2 separate regions of the Homo sapiens genome follow, and region 2 is linked to region 1. The links are contacts of gene promoters, found by promoter capture Hi-C in blood cells and fetal thymus (Javierre and others, 2016). All regions are on one chromosome and are shown on one strand. The core of a region is centred on a gene start or on the middle of the fragment in contact, and the rest is flanking DNA. Distances in the headings are between cores, read along the strand shown.

Evidence for each region. The method cuts DNA at HindIII sites, captures the fragments that hold promoters and counts their contacts. A CHiCAGO score of 5 or more calls a contact.
Region 2: the fragment with the promoter of TXNDC15 here is called in contact with the fragment with the promoter of CDC25C in region 1 in 1 of 17 cell types (erythroblasts); the score reaches 5.7 in erythroblasts.

What each region holds. Positions count from the first base shown.
Region 1 is chr5:138,329,700-138,337,048 of GRCh38, forward strand. CDC25C (cell division cycle 25C) reads right to left here and starts at 2,105. Exons shown (of 14, transcript NM_001790.5): 1 at 1,896-2,105; 2 at 1,288-1,519. The coding sequence starts at 1,481. It overlaps LOC100128966 (a long non-coding RNA gene), which reads left to right and starts at 2,406. Exons shown (of 4, transcript NR_146628.1): 1 at 2,406-2,486; 2 at 3,734-3,829; 3 at 5,686-5,786; 4 at 7,175-7,349. RefSeq lists enhancers at 1,263-2,216, 1,928-2,057, 2,068-2,117 and a silencer at 2,168-2,427. The HindIII fragment of the contact is 22,786 bases long and covers 1-7,349 here.
Region 2 is chr5:134,871,354-134,878,702 of GRCh38, forward strand. It overlaps TXNDC15 (thioredoxin domain containing 15), which reads left to right and starts at 3,018. Exons shown (of 5, transcript NM_024715.4): 1 at 3,018-3,177. The coding sequence starts at 3,075. LOC124901071 (a long non-coding RNA gene) reads right to left here and starts at 4,045. Exons shown (of 2, transcript XR_007058943.1): 1 at 3,891-4,045; 2 at 3,478-3,779. RefSeq lists enhancers at 2,694-2,743, 2,764-3,053, 2,985-3,690, 3,584-3,653, 6,064-6,123 and a silencer at 3,294-3,403. The HindIII fragment of the contact is 3,704 bases long and covers 2,138-5,841 here.

The DNA of each region.
Region 1 (7,349 bases), core at 855-3,354:
AAAGTCAAAGATCATGTCATCCTCTTCTTTTTTTTTTTTTTTTTTTTTTGCAGTGGAGTCTTGCTCTGTCCCCCCAGCTCAAGTGCAGTGGCACGATCTTGGCTCACTGCAACCTCCGCCTCCCGGGTTCAAGCGATTCTCCTGCCTCAGCCTCCCAAATAGCTGGGATCACAGGCGCCTGCCACCACGCCCAGCTAATTTTTGTATTTGTAGTAGAGATGGGGCTTCACCATGTCAGCCAGGCTGGTCTTAAACTCCTAACCTCAGGTGATCCACCCACCTCGGCCTTCCAAAGTGCTGGGATTACAGGTGTGAGCCACAACGCCTGGCCAAGCCTGTTCATTTGAAACACCCCTTAATGACTATCAGATCATCTGAACAGTGTCCAAATAAATCTAATTGCTTTTGGGAAATATATCAGACTGGGCTGAGAAAAATCTCCCACTACCATAATCTGTACTTTATTTTCTCCTTACCAACATACTGAAACAGATAATTTTTTTTTTTTTAAATGAGGCCCAGAGTTTATTGGCCGAGGGGGATCTTGACTCCACATTCCCGGTCCTGAGCACTATGAACACAGGCTTGATTTCTCCCTGGGGTCCCTAGTTTTTCTCAGGTACTACTTCTCTTTGCTAGTTGAGACATGGTATGATCAGAATTCAAAGTACAACTGCAATAACACTAATATTAATACTAATAAAGTGACCGACTCGTAATGCAGCGGTTTTCAAAGACTTTTCCCAGTTATCACATCATTTGATTCTCACAAGATCCTAGTAAGATAGGAAGCGATTATTATTTCTTTGTCTTTTCTTTTCTTTTTGAGATAGAGTCTCACTCTGTTTCCCAGGCTGAAGTGCAGTGAGGCGATCTTGGCTAACTGCAGCCTCCACCTCCCGGGCTCAAGCAATCCTCCCACCTCAGCCTCCCGAGTTGCTGGGACTATAGGTGCACACCACCACACTCAGCTAACTTTTAATATTTTTTGTAGAGACGGCGTCTTGCCATGTTGCCCAGGCTGGTCTTGAACTCCTAGACTCAGGCGATCCGCCCTCCTTGGCCTCCCAAAGTGCGGAGATTACAGGCATGAGCCACCTCGCCTGGCTGAGATTATTTCTTGTCACAGAAAAGAAGGTGAGACTCAAAAGGGTTACACAGTCAAGGGCAGAGTTGAGACTTAAAGCCTGACCTTTGAGCCGGGATAATTGAAAACAAACCAACAAACAAACCCAACTGTTTGGAAATAGCAAAGGCAATACAGTGTAAAAATAAAAGTATATTTACCCAGACAAAATGCTTAGGTTTGCAGAATCACCAAGAAATTTGCCCACTGGAGTTCTAGGGACATCTGGACAGACGGTAAAGGAAGTGTCTCTCTCCAGGAGCAGGTTTAACATTTTCCTTTGATTAGACCTAAAACTGGGTCCTGAGCCAGAGCTTCCTTCCTCTCTTGTGGATGAGAAGAGTTCCGTAGACATGGTCTTCGAATTCTCACCAGGAGAAAAACAAAACCTAGCTAGGAGGAAAACGTCATCTAAATCGGTACATCACAGTTCCCTCAGCTTTCCTAAACTCCTCCACCCTTTCCAGCCAGGCGAATCAACACTGGAAGAGGGGCAACCCCGAAGGGTGATTCACAGCCTGGCTTAAGGTTAGAACCTGAATTCACCGACGAGAGGCAACCTTAGGACCTTAAAGATGGAATGAAGAGAGGATTTTGACTTGTTCCACGCCACACAGCTCGAGACTCCTGACTAGAAAGAACCCGGGTCTCGTAACTCGCGATAGTCCCCATTCGGCCCTCCCAACCTCTGTCTGTGGGGGCCCGACTGGACCCTAAGGGGGACAATGGGGTCTCCGTGATTCCGTGGCGGAGACGGCTGCGGACTTACCTCAAGCCTGGAGTCTGAGGCTTGCCTACAAGAGGAGAGAAAGTAGATAGGGATCGGACACAGGCGAAGACTTGAGCAGAATGAAAGGAAATCTAGGGGAAAGGAGGTAGTTAACTAGATTGCAGCTCTGCCTTCCGACTGGGTAGGCCAACGTCGGACTCAGAGTCTTCCCTGAGCAGAAGGCCAAAGTTACGGCCTCTGAGCAAGAATATCAACAGCCGCAGGCGTTGACCATTCAAACCTTCCGCCAGCCCAGTAACCTATCCCCGCTCGCCTCTAAGCTGCGTCAGCCAATCTCCGCGCGCGCGCCCAGGGCCTCATGGCCTATCGTTGGGCTCGCAGATCACCTGGGGGCGTGTGCTTGCTCTGGAAATGGTAAGACTTGCCCCGCCCCATAGCCAGAGCAGGATAGTGTTTGGCCCACCAGCGTTAGGCAGGCTGCGGGGTAAGCTCCGCCTCACGGGGAGCCTGGCGCATCATTGGCTCTCCCTCTCACCAATCTCCACACCCTTTCTGTTTTCCTCGTTCCCTCAGCCCCACGAACCCCGGGAGATTTAAACCGCGCCTTACTAGTGATGTCCATTCACTAGGGTAATACTAGGAGAGATTATTTTGGGTGGAGGGTGTTGTAAGCGTTTCATTTTCTTCGCTTCTTTCTCGTGCCGTTTTCGCGGACGTTTTCTTCTAAGTTTTGCTGGCCTTCCACGGGAGATGGAGCGTTTGCTGCCGGCGTGGCAAGTGTTGGGGCGAGACGGGTGTGTGTGTTTATGCTGAGAGGCATTAGCCCCTTCCAAGAGCTTTGTTTGGTGTTTCTTTTAGTGTGCAGCATCTCAGAGACTCTAGCTCACGTGGGTAAAAAGAAATTCCGTTGCAGGGAAAGTGGAGGAATTAAATCATCTTGGTATAATCCTTATCGCAATCCAGAGGACCTCAAAGATTGGTTATTAATGAAAATTTGAACATTGACGAGGTGATATTTATAAATTATTGGCCGGACGCGTTGGCCCACACCTGTAATCCCAGCACTTTGGGAGGCCGAGGCGGGCAGATTACATGAGGTCAGGGGTTCAAAACCAGCCTGGCCAACATGATGAAACCCCGTCTCTACTAAAAATACAAAATTTAGCCGGTTGTGGTGGCACACACCTGTAATCCCAGCTACTTGGGAGGCTGAGGCATGAGAACTGCTTGAACTCGGGAGACAGAGGTTGCGCCACTGCACTCCAGCCTGGGCATTAGAGTGAAACAAACAAAAAGACATTCCTAATGTTAGGGATTTGCTTTTAAATAATCCTGTGCTGGGGGAAGGTATTGATGATACAAGATTGACCCTGACTGTTGAGTGATGGGGGCAGGAGGGTCCATCATATCTGTGCTTCTCAAGGTTTAATTTGCACACTAACCACCTGAGGACCTGCTAAATGCAGATTCTGATTCGGGATGTCTGGGTTGCGGTTGCGGCCCAAGATTCTGCCCTTCTAACAAGCCCCCAGCTGATGGTGAGGTAGCTGGTCCTACGACCATACTTTGCGTGGTAAGGTATTACCCCATACTTCTTACTTCAATGTATATTTGAAAATTTCCATAATAAAAATGTTCAAAATAACCTTGGAAGCTCTTTAAGATGTAGGCTCCAAAAACGATAATTCGATAGGTCTAAAGTGGGGTCATTATCAAGGCCCCCAGGTGCTACCCATGCAGACGGCTTGCAGATCATGCTTTGAGAAACAAAAGTCAAAATGCAACTTGTGTCTGTTGTCAGGATCTTGGTGGTGGTAGTGGCTGAGAGGCACAGTGTAGCCAGCTGGTTTTTATCCTAATACCCTTTTCATCTGCAGAACCTGCTTCCCCAGAAAGGAGATGTGTGAAGATTCTTTGTCCTCTAGGATACAGACAGTGAGTGTAGGAGTTAGCACAGAACCTTGCTATGCCAGGTGAGTTTGAAAATCAGGCTGGGGATTAAGGGAGTGTGGGATGAGTTGTTATCTGCTTTGACGACTACAGTATAATCACACTTTGTGGGAAATTGTATACTTCCCTGCAGGTGGGAAGTAGAGACAAAGTTATTCTCTATTGGTGGCAAAAGCAGATAGATTATGGCAAGTGCACACCTGGCTACCAGTGCTTTCTGCACCAGGTCCTCAAGTAAGTGCAGTTGTGGGTGGTCACAACAAAGGTGTCAGCCAAGTGGCTTTAGTTCAATGTCAGGTGATGGAAATATACTAAAATCTGAGCACTCTGACAAAGTTGCAGCATTCCTAAAACAAATTCTCCAAAAATCTAGCCCCAAAAATAAGTTTCTGAGATTTCTCAAATGGAACTTATACACCTAGCTCTTAAGAGTATTTTTTTTTTTTTTAAGATGGAGTCTCGCTCTCTCCCGGGCTAGAGTACAGTGGCGCAATCTTGGCCCACTGCAACCTCTGCCTCCTGGGTTCAAGTTATTCTCCTGCCTCAGCCTCCCGAGTAGCTGGGACTACAGGTGCCCGCCACCACGCCTGGCTGATTTTTGTATTTTTAATAGAGGTGGGGTTTCACCATATTGTCCAGGCTGTTCTGGAACTCCTGACCTCAAATGATCCACCCACCTCGGCCTCCCAAAGTGCTGGGATTACAGGCATGAGCCACTGCGCCCGGCCGCCCTTAAGACTTTTTACAGATGCAGTGGTGCGCCTGTAGTCCCAGCTACTTGGGAGGATCACTTGAGCCCAGGAGTTTGAGGCCAGCCTGGGCAACATAGTGAGACTGTCTCCTAAAAACAACAACAAAAAAACTTTTTTTTTTTGAGACAGTTTCTTTCTTGTTGCCTAGGCTGGAGTGCAATGGCGCAATCTCAGCTCACTGCAACCTCTGTTCAAGTGATTCTCTTGCCTCAGCCTCCTGAGTAGCTGGGATTACAGGCATGCGCCACCACACCTGGCTAATTTTTGTATTTTTAGTTGAGACAGGGTTTCGCTGTGTTGGCCAGGCTGGTCTCAAACTCCTGACCTGAGGTAATCCACCCACCTCGGCCTCCCAAAGTGCTGGGATTACAGGTGTGAGCCACCATGCCCAGCCAACAAAACTCTTAAAAGCTCTACGTTTGTTAATGAGGTTGTTTTCCTAGCAAACATTTTCACTATCTCCTCATGATTCCAGCTGGCTTAGCTAATTGCAACATACTTAGCTAATTACATGTAAGTTTACATGCATACATACAAACTGTGAAATGGTAGAATTATTTTAAAGGGAAGTCAAATATTGTCTTTTATATCTTGATTTATGAGGGTGTTGGAATATATCTAAGTTATCCTTCCCAGAAGAAAGAATATTAGGGAGGTGGGAAGTTTGGTGTTTAATCTGATTTGAAGATTTACTTTTTCTGTTGGATTGAGGGCATTGATCCTATGTCATCCTTGGGGAATCCCTATCTAGGCTCCTGATTCACTGTGATAAGCAGTGAGCTGTGTTCCTTCACCTTGACCTCAGTCTGACTCATACATGTTGTTGCCAGGGCACAGTGACAGCCCGGGCTTCACCCTGAAACACCAAACAAGAACAGGAGGTACAGCCATCACTCCTGGGATGCCCAGATCAGGCAGTGGAGAAGAGCCCTGCATTCCTGGGATCCTCCCAGCCAGCCTCTGCAGGGCAGAGGGGCTGAGGGGTGTGTTTTCTATTCCTGGTTCTTTTTATGACTGGTAGGCTTAGCCCTACTTCTCCCCACTTTGCAGAGGTTTAGCTTTCACTGGGTGAAAAGGGAAGGTCTGAATCGAGTGCATGTTCCTCCAACTCGGCTGTTCCTTCCTAGGCAGGGAATGAAGAGTCTTAGAACCAATGGATTCCACTCCTTTGGATGACCTCCTGGATGACTGGCTCCAGGCCCTGGAGCCCTCAGAATATGGATGGAGAGTATCCTTTGCTGAAACCCACTGGAGCAGGGTCACAGATGGGGTTTGGCCCATGAGGGCATAATTAAGATGCAGTTCAAAGCAGTGGCTCAAGAACAAAAGACTAAAAAGGGGGCAGCAGGGAAAGAGCAGGACATGAGTAAAAAATCCTTGGGAACTAAAAGTGGAATAAGGAGATTTAATTATGGGTAGGAGTGTTGGGCTGCACTGGGAGGCCATTTTATAGATGACGAAAGGGGATGTAACCTTCCTTTGAAATGAGGCCTGAAACTTGACTTGCAGGGTTTTTTTTTTTGTTTTGTTTTTTTTGTTTTGTTTTGGGTCTCAGTTTCTTTCAATGTTTTGCAAATGAGCCAATGCCTACTTTTAACTCAACCATTTAATTCATAATAATTAAATTATTAATTTAATTAATAATAAAAAGGTGAACAGCTTAGTGGTGAAAAGCAAGGGCTTTTAGACTGCTTTTTGAGAGTACCTTTGCCTACCATGTGGGCAGTCACTTAACTTCTTGGGCTGTTTCATTTGTCAAAGAGAAGGTTTTGTTTCATTTGATGATTGTAAGAAAAAATGAGAATATATATCAAAGTATGTAGGTCAAGTGTGGTGGTTCACACCTGGAATCCCAGCACTTCGTTTTTTGTTCATTTGTTTTTTTTTTTTTTTGAGACAGAGTCTCATTCTGTTGCCCAGGCTGGAGTGCAGTGGCACAATCTCGGCTCACTGCAATCTCTGCCTCCCCGGTTCAAGCGATTCTCCTGCCTCAGCCTCCCGAGTAGCTGGGATTACAGATGGGCGCCACAATGCCCAGCTAATTTTTGTATTTTTTAGTAGAGACGGGGTTTCACTTTGTTGCCAGGCTGGTCTCGAACTCCTGACCTCAGGTGATCCGTCTGCCTCAGCCTCCCAAAGTGCTAGGATTACAGGTGTGAGACACCACGCCAATCCCAGCACTTTGTGAGGCCAAGATGGGAAGATTGTTTGAGGCCAGGAGTTTGAGACTACCCTGGGCAACATAGCAAGACGCCTCTCTCTACAAAAATAGAAATAAATATGCTGGGCATGGTGGCACACCCCTGTAGTTCTAGCTATTCAGGAGGCTGAGATGGAAAGGATTGCTTGAGCCCAGAAGTTCAAGGCTGCAGTGAGCTGTGATCGCCTCAGTGCACTCCAGCCTGAGCAACAGCAAGACCCTGTTTTTACAAAAAAAAAAAAATGTAGCATGGTGTCTGGTACATAAGAGCAATTATTGGAAACCATGTGTCCCCTACTTCATGGCCCCTAACTCTGCTCCTTTTGCCAAGGGGAAATAAGCAGTGCAAGGTAAATCTTTCCACCCCTATTTTCTCAGTTAGTACTGTACCTCATTTTTCCTCTACTCTTTTTCAGTTTGTAGACTTGGTGGCTCCTGCCTCCTCCCCTCCCTGGCTCAGTGAGGACGACCCCCGCCACTGGCTCTACTTTCCAGCTGATCACAGCTATTTACCTGTCCCAGTCTTGAGTAAGGCACAAAATATTTACAGAAAACAGATGTCTTTCAGAGGACTTGCTGCTAAGTGTAATA
Region 2 (7,349 bases), core at 1,768-4,267, 3.5 Mb before region 1:
CTCCGCCTTTCGGTTTCAAGCGATTCTCCTGCCTCAGCCTCCTGAGTAGCTGGGATTACAGGCATGCAGCCACTATGCCCAGCTAATTTTGTATTTTTAGTAGAGACGGGGTTTTTCCATGTTGGTCAGGCTGGTCTTGAATTCCTGACCTCAGGTGATCAGTACGCCTCGGCCTCCCAAAGTGCTGGGATTACAGGCATGAGCCACTGCGCCCGGCCGACTAGTTTTAAAAAAATTTTGTTAGCAGTGTGAACTCATAGATGTTAACATATGCAGTGTATTTCAGTCTATTGAAATTTTTCATTTTTATGCTCAAATCATCCCATCTTTGGCAAGTAGGAGCCAGTTTGGTTCCTCAGTCATTCTAAATGACCGTAGTACCCTGGTATTCTTTTATTTATTTATTTACTTATATATTTAAGTTTTGCATTTTGATATAAGATGTCCCAGACTCACAGAAAGGCCTTTTGAGATAGCAAGACAAATTTGGCGGATTTAATTTCAGCCAAAGGAAGAGAATAATGTCAGCTTTTCTTTCCTCACCCCCAGAAATTTGATAGAAACCAGGACAATTGTGAAGGCAGTTTTCTCACTGAAAAGAAGTGCACGTTGGTGGTGAGACAGTTAAATAAGGATTCTAACCTGTGGACTACATTTGTTGTCATTAGAGGGGGTATATACAGTATTTATTCAAAGACGCTCAAGCCTGTAATCCCAGCCCTTTGGGAGGCCGAGGCGGGAGGACTGCTTGAGCCCAGGAGTTTGAAATCAAACTGGGTCAAACAGTGAGACCTCATCTCTAGAAAAAAATTTAAAAACGGGGTGGGAAGATCGCTTGAGCCCAAGGGGTTGTGGCTGCAATGAGCCATAACTGAGCAATTGCACCTGGGTGACAGCGAGACTGTGCCTAAAAAAAAAAAAAAATTGAAAGACAATTCTAACATCCAATTCTAACATCTAATTCTAACATCTGTAAGCGTATCTGTCCCAAACACAGAGCTAAAGTAAAAACACAGGAAGGGGCCGGGCGCAGTGGCTCATGCCTGTAATCCCAACACTTTGGGAGGCCAAGGCGGGTGGATCACCTGAGGTCAGGAGTTTGAGACCAGTCTGACCAACATGGTGAAACCCCATCTCTACTAAAAATATAAAATTAGTCGGGCGTGGTGGCGCATGCCTGTAATCCCAGCTACTTGGGAGGCTGAGATAGGAGAATTGCTTGAACCCGGGGAGGTGGAGATTGCAGTGAGCCAAGATCGCGCCATTGCACTCCAGCCTGGGCAACAAGAGCGAAACTCTTGTCTCAAAAAATAAAAAAATCAAACAAACACACATACAGGAAAGGAAAGGAGATAATAAAAAGGAAGGAGTAGTAACCACAGGGCATCCATGTTGGAGTATCCAGATCAGCTTCCTTTTCATTAGTCATAAATCCTTTTGGTGCTCTGTCCTGTTGGCTTTTCATGCACCTTCAAATCATGTATGGGGGTATGAGAAAGATAGTTTAAAAAGGAAAGGTTTGTTGTTCCACTGTTAGGGGTGAGGGAGGTACTTAGCGAAATGATGACTAGTAATAAGCTCTAGAACTGTGGGCTCTTTTATCCATGTCCATTGTTTCATATTCTTCTGGACCCACAAGATGGCACTTGAGGATCTACAACAGCAAAACCATACCAACGTATTTAGAATAAAAGAATCATCCACAGGGACAGATTAATGATGCATCTTTCTGGCCTAACAGTGTCTTTTTGATGGGCATAGAGATAAGGGGACTATGGCCACACCATCAGAATTGTATTATTCAATTAATAATGCCTACCACTTTGAAATGCTTCCTGTGCCCCAGGACACTGTGCTCATCACTTTACATCTCATTTCATCTATAAGACTCTATATAACGTCATTTCCACTTTACAGCTGAAGAAACTTAACTTTAAGTTACATAACCTGCTGACTGTGAACTATCACATGTGCTGAAGTTGGGATTCACCAAGCGGCCAAAAAGCACAGGTTCCCCTTACCATTGCTATGTTAACCAATAGACTGATGTATTTTAAATCAGTTTCTATTTTTTCAACCTCATAAGTTTGAAAAGCTGCACTCTGCACTGATTTAGCACTGACTGGTGGCTGCTTAAAGCTTGCCTTATTCCATTTTAGCAGGCCCCCCGGCAAAATACCCCAATTAGTGGTGTCATCCTCTCTATTCCAAGAATTTTCTCTTAAGACTCCCGCTCTGTGCGTTTGCTTGGGAATGCAGAGCCCTGTTCCTCATCTCCCCATCTATGCTTTCTTCATTCTAAGCCCTTTCCTATCTACTTTATGCTCGAGGTGGCTCCACCTCCACCATGAGCCAGAGCCAATGATGCTCACGGCCCCAACCATGATTAAAAAGAGATTGCCCTGCAAGGTAAATCAGTTAAAACCAACCTCTCCTGCCCTGAGTGGATAGGTAGGGTTAGGGTTGCCAGATGTCACGAAGTTACAGGATGCTCAGTTTTAAGGTATATCCCTTATACTATAAGGGTTATAGTAAAAAATATTCATTATGTGAAATTCAAATATAACTGGGTATCAGGTATTCTATGTGGCAACCCTAGGTAGGGGAGCACAGGTTAGGCAAGCGATTAGAAGATTTGCAGCCTCCAAAGTTTCTGCACCTCGATGGGACACTAGAACAGGAAGGCTCCTGGGCCTTTCTGGCTCTGGGAATGAAGCGTGGAAAACCCTCCTTAGGCGGGCGCAGTGCTTCAAGTAGCCAAGCTCTGACTTCCGAGGGAAGAAAGGAGGCCATGGGCCTCTGCCAGAGCCATGCTCTGCACTCTGGGGTCAGCAGAGTTCAAAACGACCTGCAACGTCTGGCGCTTAGCTCCTAAAGAGGTCTCCAGTCCAGCGCCGACGGCCAGCGGCTAGAGGCCGTCCGCCCGACTCCAAGATGGCGCCCGCCACAGCTGCCAGGTGTTAAGATGGCGGCGCGGGGCCGCGCCCGCGCTCCCAGGCTCTCCTCCCCCAGCCTTCCTCCGGCTGGCAGCACGACTCGCGTAGCCGTGCGCCGATTGCCTCTCGGCCTGGGCAATGGTCCCGGCTGCCGGTCGACGACCGCCCCGCGTCATGCGGCTCCTCGGCTGGTGGCAAGTATTGCTGTGGGTGCTGGGACTTCCCGTCCGCGGCGTGGAGGGTGAGTGTGGGCCGGGGGCGGTGCATGAGATGATGGGGCGAGCTGAGGTCCACCCGGGCGACGCTCTGGACCTGCGCGAAGGCCGGCGGTGCGCGACTCGCCCCTTCTTGGCGTCTCCCCGGGCGCGTCTCCCCGACTTCTCTCCCCGCGCACCGCCCGCTGGTGGCCCGCGAAAGGGGGCCGGTGGGCTGAGGGCCGGTGGACGGGAGCCCGGGGGTGGTTGGGCCGCGTTCAGGCCGCCCTCAGCCCGTGGCTGGTAGCCAGGAGGGACAGTGCGGTAAGCGCTGCTGAGGCATACCCTCTGGTGATAAGCAATTTATTATTAATAACATTATATCAAATACCGACATTGTTGTGGCCGTATTAGGAGCCAGGAACTGTGCATCGTGCTTTATTTACATCATTATCCCATTTAATGCTCCCACAAACCCTGTCAGATCGGTTCCGTTTAGTGTCTCCATTTCACAGATGAAGATGCTCAGGCCCCGCCTAAGTTTGCGCTTCTGATACGTGGCAGAAGCCTGTCTCTCTGACGCCAAAGCCCAGTCTGGAGTCCACGCTGCTGGACCACTGTCTTAAGGAGGCCAGTCTTGCTCAGCTCCCTGCATGAAAAACAGACGAGAAACACGGGAGACTCCCGGTAACCCCCAACTTGCCGGTAGGGAAGGCAGCCACTCTAGAGGCATGGCGAGGGTGGAGAGTGGAGGCCTTACTTTCATGCTCCTTCACCCCACTCCTCATAGTCCTGTTAAAGTCCAGACCCTCGGTCTCGCTTGTCATTTAGACCTTAACAGGAATAGGCAGGTCTTTCTTTTCCCTGGGGTGTCCTGGATGGAGGCAGGACAGCAGAGAGTTGTGGAGAAGGGTGAGTCATAGTAACACAATTACCATGAATGAAAGCGCTCACTGTGTACCAGATGCTGTGCTCAGTGCTTTACGAGCATCATCTTTTGGAATCTTTACTGTTTTGTTTTTGTTTTTTTAAGGGATGAGGGCTTGCTCTGTTGCCCAGGCGGGAGTGCAGTGGCCCATCATGGCTCCCTGCAGCCTTGAACTCCTGGGCTTAAGTGATCCTCCCACCTGTTTCCCAAAGTGCTGGGATTACAGATGTGAGCCACTGCTCCCGGTTTATGTAATTTTTATTTTTATTTTTTTTTGAGATGGAGTCTCGCTCTGTTGCCCAGGCTGGAGTGCAGTGGCGCGATCTTGGCTCACTGCAACCTCTGACTCCCGGGTTCAAGCGATTCTCGTGCCTCAGCCTCCTGAGTAGCTGGGATTACAGGTGCCTGCCACCACACTGGGCTAATTTTTGTATTTTTAGTAGAGATGATGGTCCACCATGTTGGCCACGCTGGTCTGGAACTCCTGACCTCAGGTGATCCACCCACCTCGGCCTCCCAGAGTGCTGGGATTACAGGCTTGAGCCACCGTGCCTGGCCTTAGTAATTTTTAAATGCATATGCAGTAGATGTTATCATGCTCATTTTATAGAAGTAACTTAAGACTCAGAGCCAATAAGTCCTTTGACAAGGTCATACAGCCAGAAGTTGAGGAGCCTTGATTCAAGCCCATGTCTGCCTGACTTCAGAGCCCAACCTCTGCATTTTCACTATACTTAACTGCTAGCCTCACAGAGGGGATGGCATGGGTTGGATATCTTCTGTTTCAGCCCCTCCACCGTGCTCTGTGCCCTGTGTGGCTGTCCTGTGTGGAATAAATACCAGCTGTCCTACCGTCTTGCTTCCATTGTGTTGGAATGAGGGGAGAGTGAGGTCAGGGTATTGATTCTCTCCGCTCCCTCCCTGAGAAGTTATTGAAGGCTGGCTTTGCCCCCGGTGGAAAGCATTGAATTCTAGAAAGCTGCCCTCTGTGTTACCCTTGATGTTTCAAGGTTCTGTGACTACTTCTCTCTCCAGACTCTTAAGGTCTATGAGTGGTAACTGGCTCCTCCTCTACTGTTACTGGCCTTGGAATTCCTTACCATTGCTTTTCATTTCTCTGCACCCAGCCTACACATTAGTGGTCCCTTCATTAAACTCTCCTCAACTTGCCCAAGTTAAATGTGCTGTTTCCTGGCAGAACCCTGGCTGATTCAGGGTTCAGCTTGGGTCTTTGGTCATCATGGCCAGGCCATGAATGGGGTGAAGACAGAAGAAACTTCACCAGCTGATTTCTTCTCAGAGTAGCTGAAAATCTGAGGTGTTTTTTTTTTTTTTTTTTCTGCAGAGGATGCCACTGGCAGATTATGCTGGCCTCAGGTGCTGAGGCCCTGAGAGACTAAGCAACCTGGAGGTAGCAATGCTATCCAGGTGTCTAGGAATGGAAGCAAACTCCTGGCTTCAATACCCCTATGCCACTCTTCCCTAGGCAGTCAGCTAGCAAATTCTTACTGAGCACTCATCATATGCTAAACACTGTGCTGAGCACTGGGGATCCAGTGGTGAGTTAGAGCAGCAGGCCTTTGGGGAAGGCAGCCACTAAATAACTACAAATTACTAAGAAAATTGCAAGACTGAGAAATGCATCAAGGAGAGTCCCAGGGCGTTTTTGGGAACTGTAATGGGAGACCTCCCACCCTGGTCTGAGGGTCAGGGAATGTGTCCTTACAGAGGTGACATTTAGGGTGAGATCTGAATGAGGAGGATGAAGGATTTGGCAGGAGGAAGCTTCCCAGCAGAGAAACAGCCCTCAGGAAGGCTCTAAGGCAGGTGGGGATAGGAGGAGTGTAAATGATCAGGGACTAGAGGGATCTGATGGCCACAGGTGAGAGTGCAGACAGAGGCCACATTGGGGCCTGGTAGCTCTGCTACAGAATGCAGATGCATTCACAGGGTAGGGGAAGCCACTGAAAGAGTTTTAGCAGGGGAGTGACATGATCAGATATGCCTTTTATCTTTCAGTTTCACTTGTATTGCTGTGAAGGTCAGGGTCTGGAGGGGGGATAGCAGGCTGACCAGGGAGACCAGTTTAGGTGGCTACAGTAGTTGCCCAGACAAGAATTGGCTGTGGCCTTTGCTGAGAAGTGTTAGTTGGGATGGGGAAAGTAGATGGATTGTGAATGTGTTTAGCAGGTGAAATTTTTTTTTTTCTTTTTGAGAAGGAGTCTTGCTCTTGTCACCCAGGCTGGAGTGCAGTGGCACCATCTTGGCTCACTGCAACCTCCACCTCCTGGGTTCAAATGATTCTCCTGCCTCAGCCTCCCGAGTAGCTGGGATTACAGGCATGCGCCACCATGCCTGGCTAATTTTTTTTTTTTTTTTTGAGATGGAGTTTTGCTCTTGTTGCTCAGGCTGGAGCAATGGTGCGATCTTGGCTCATTGCAACCTCTGCCTCCCGGGTTCAAGCGATTCTCTTGTCTCAGCTTCCTGAGTAGCTGGGATTACAGGCACCCGTCACTACACCCCGGCTAATTTTTGGTATTTTTAGTAGAGATGGGGTTTCGCCATGTTGGCCAGGCTGGTCTCGAACTCCTGACCTCAGGTGATCTGCCCGCCTTGACCTCCCAAAGTGCTGGGATTACAGGCGTGAGCCACTGCGCCTGGCCTAATTTTTGTATTTTTTAGTAGAGATGGGGTTTCACCATGTTGGCCAGGCTGGTCTTGAATTCCTGACCTCAAGTAATCTGCCTGCCTTGGCCTCCCAAAGTGTTAGGATTACAGGTATGAACCAGCAAGCCCAGTGTGCAGGTTAATTAATAGAACTTAGTTATTGTGCCTTTCCATCTCTTTGAATTGTAAACACCACTCATCATAATCATCATCATCACCACAGCCATTTATGGAGTGTTTAACCTGTGGCAGGGACCATACACATCTTTTCTCATTTAATCTTCACAGTAGCCTCATAATTTTCTACATTTTGGTGGTATTGTCTCCATTTGCTAAATGAGCACACAGTATTGCCTATGGAAAGTATGGATTGCTGTCCCTCCAACCCTTGACTGTTTTTGGTCCCTCCTCATTTGCCTTTCCTGCCAGAAGCCATTGTGAAAACACCTGCAGCTGGTAAAGAGCCTTCTGAGAAAAGCTGGAAGGGTGTGAAGGTGCTGACCTAGGCTAGGGCTCCCTGGCAGAATTGGCATGGTGCCCTCACACTTGTCCTTCAGACAACTTCTTTGCTGCCAGTGATGCAATAATTATCACTTTATGTATAGCTCAAACTGCAGTCTCTTA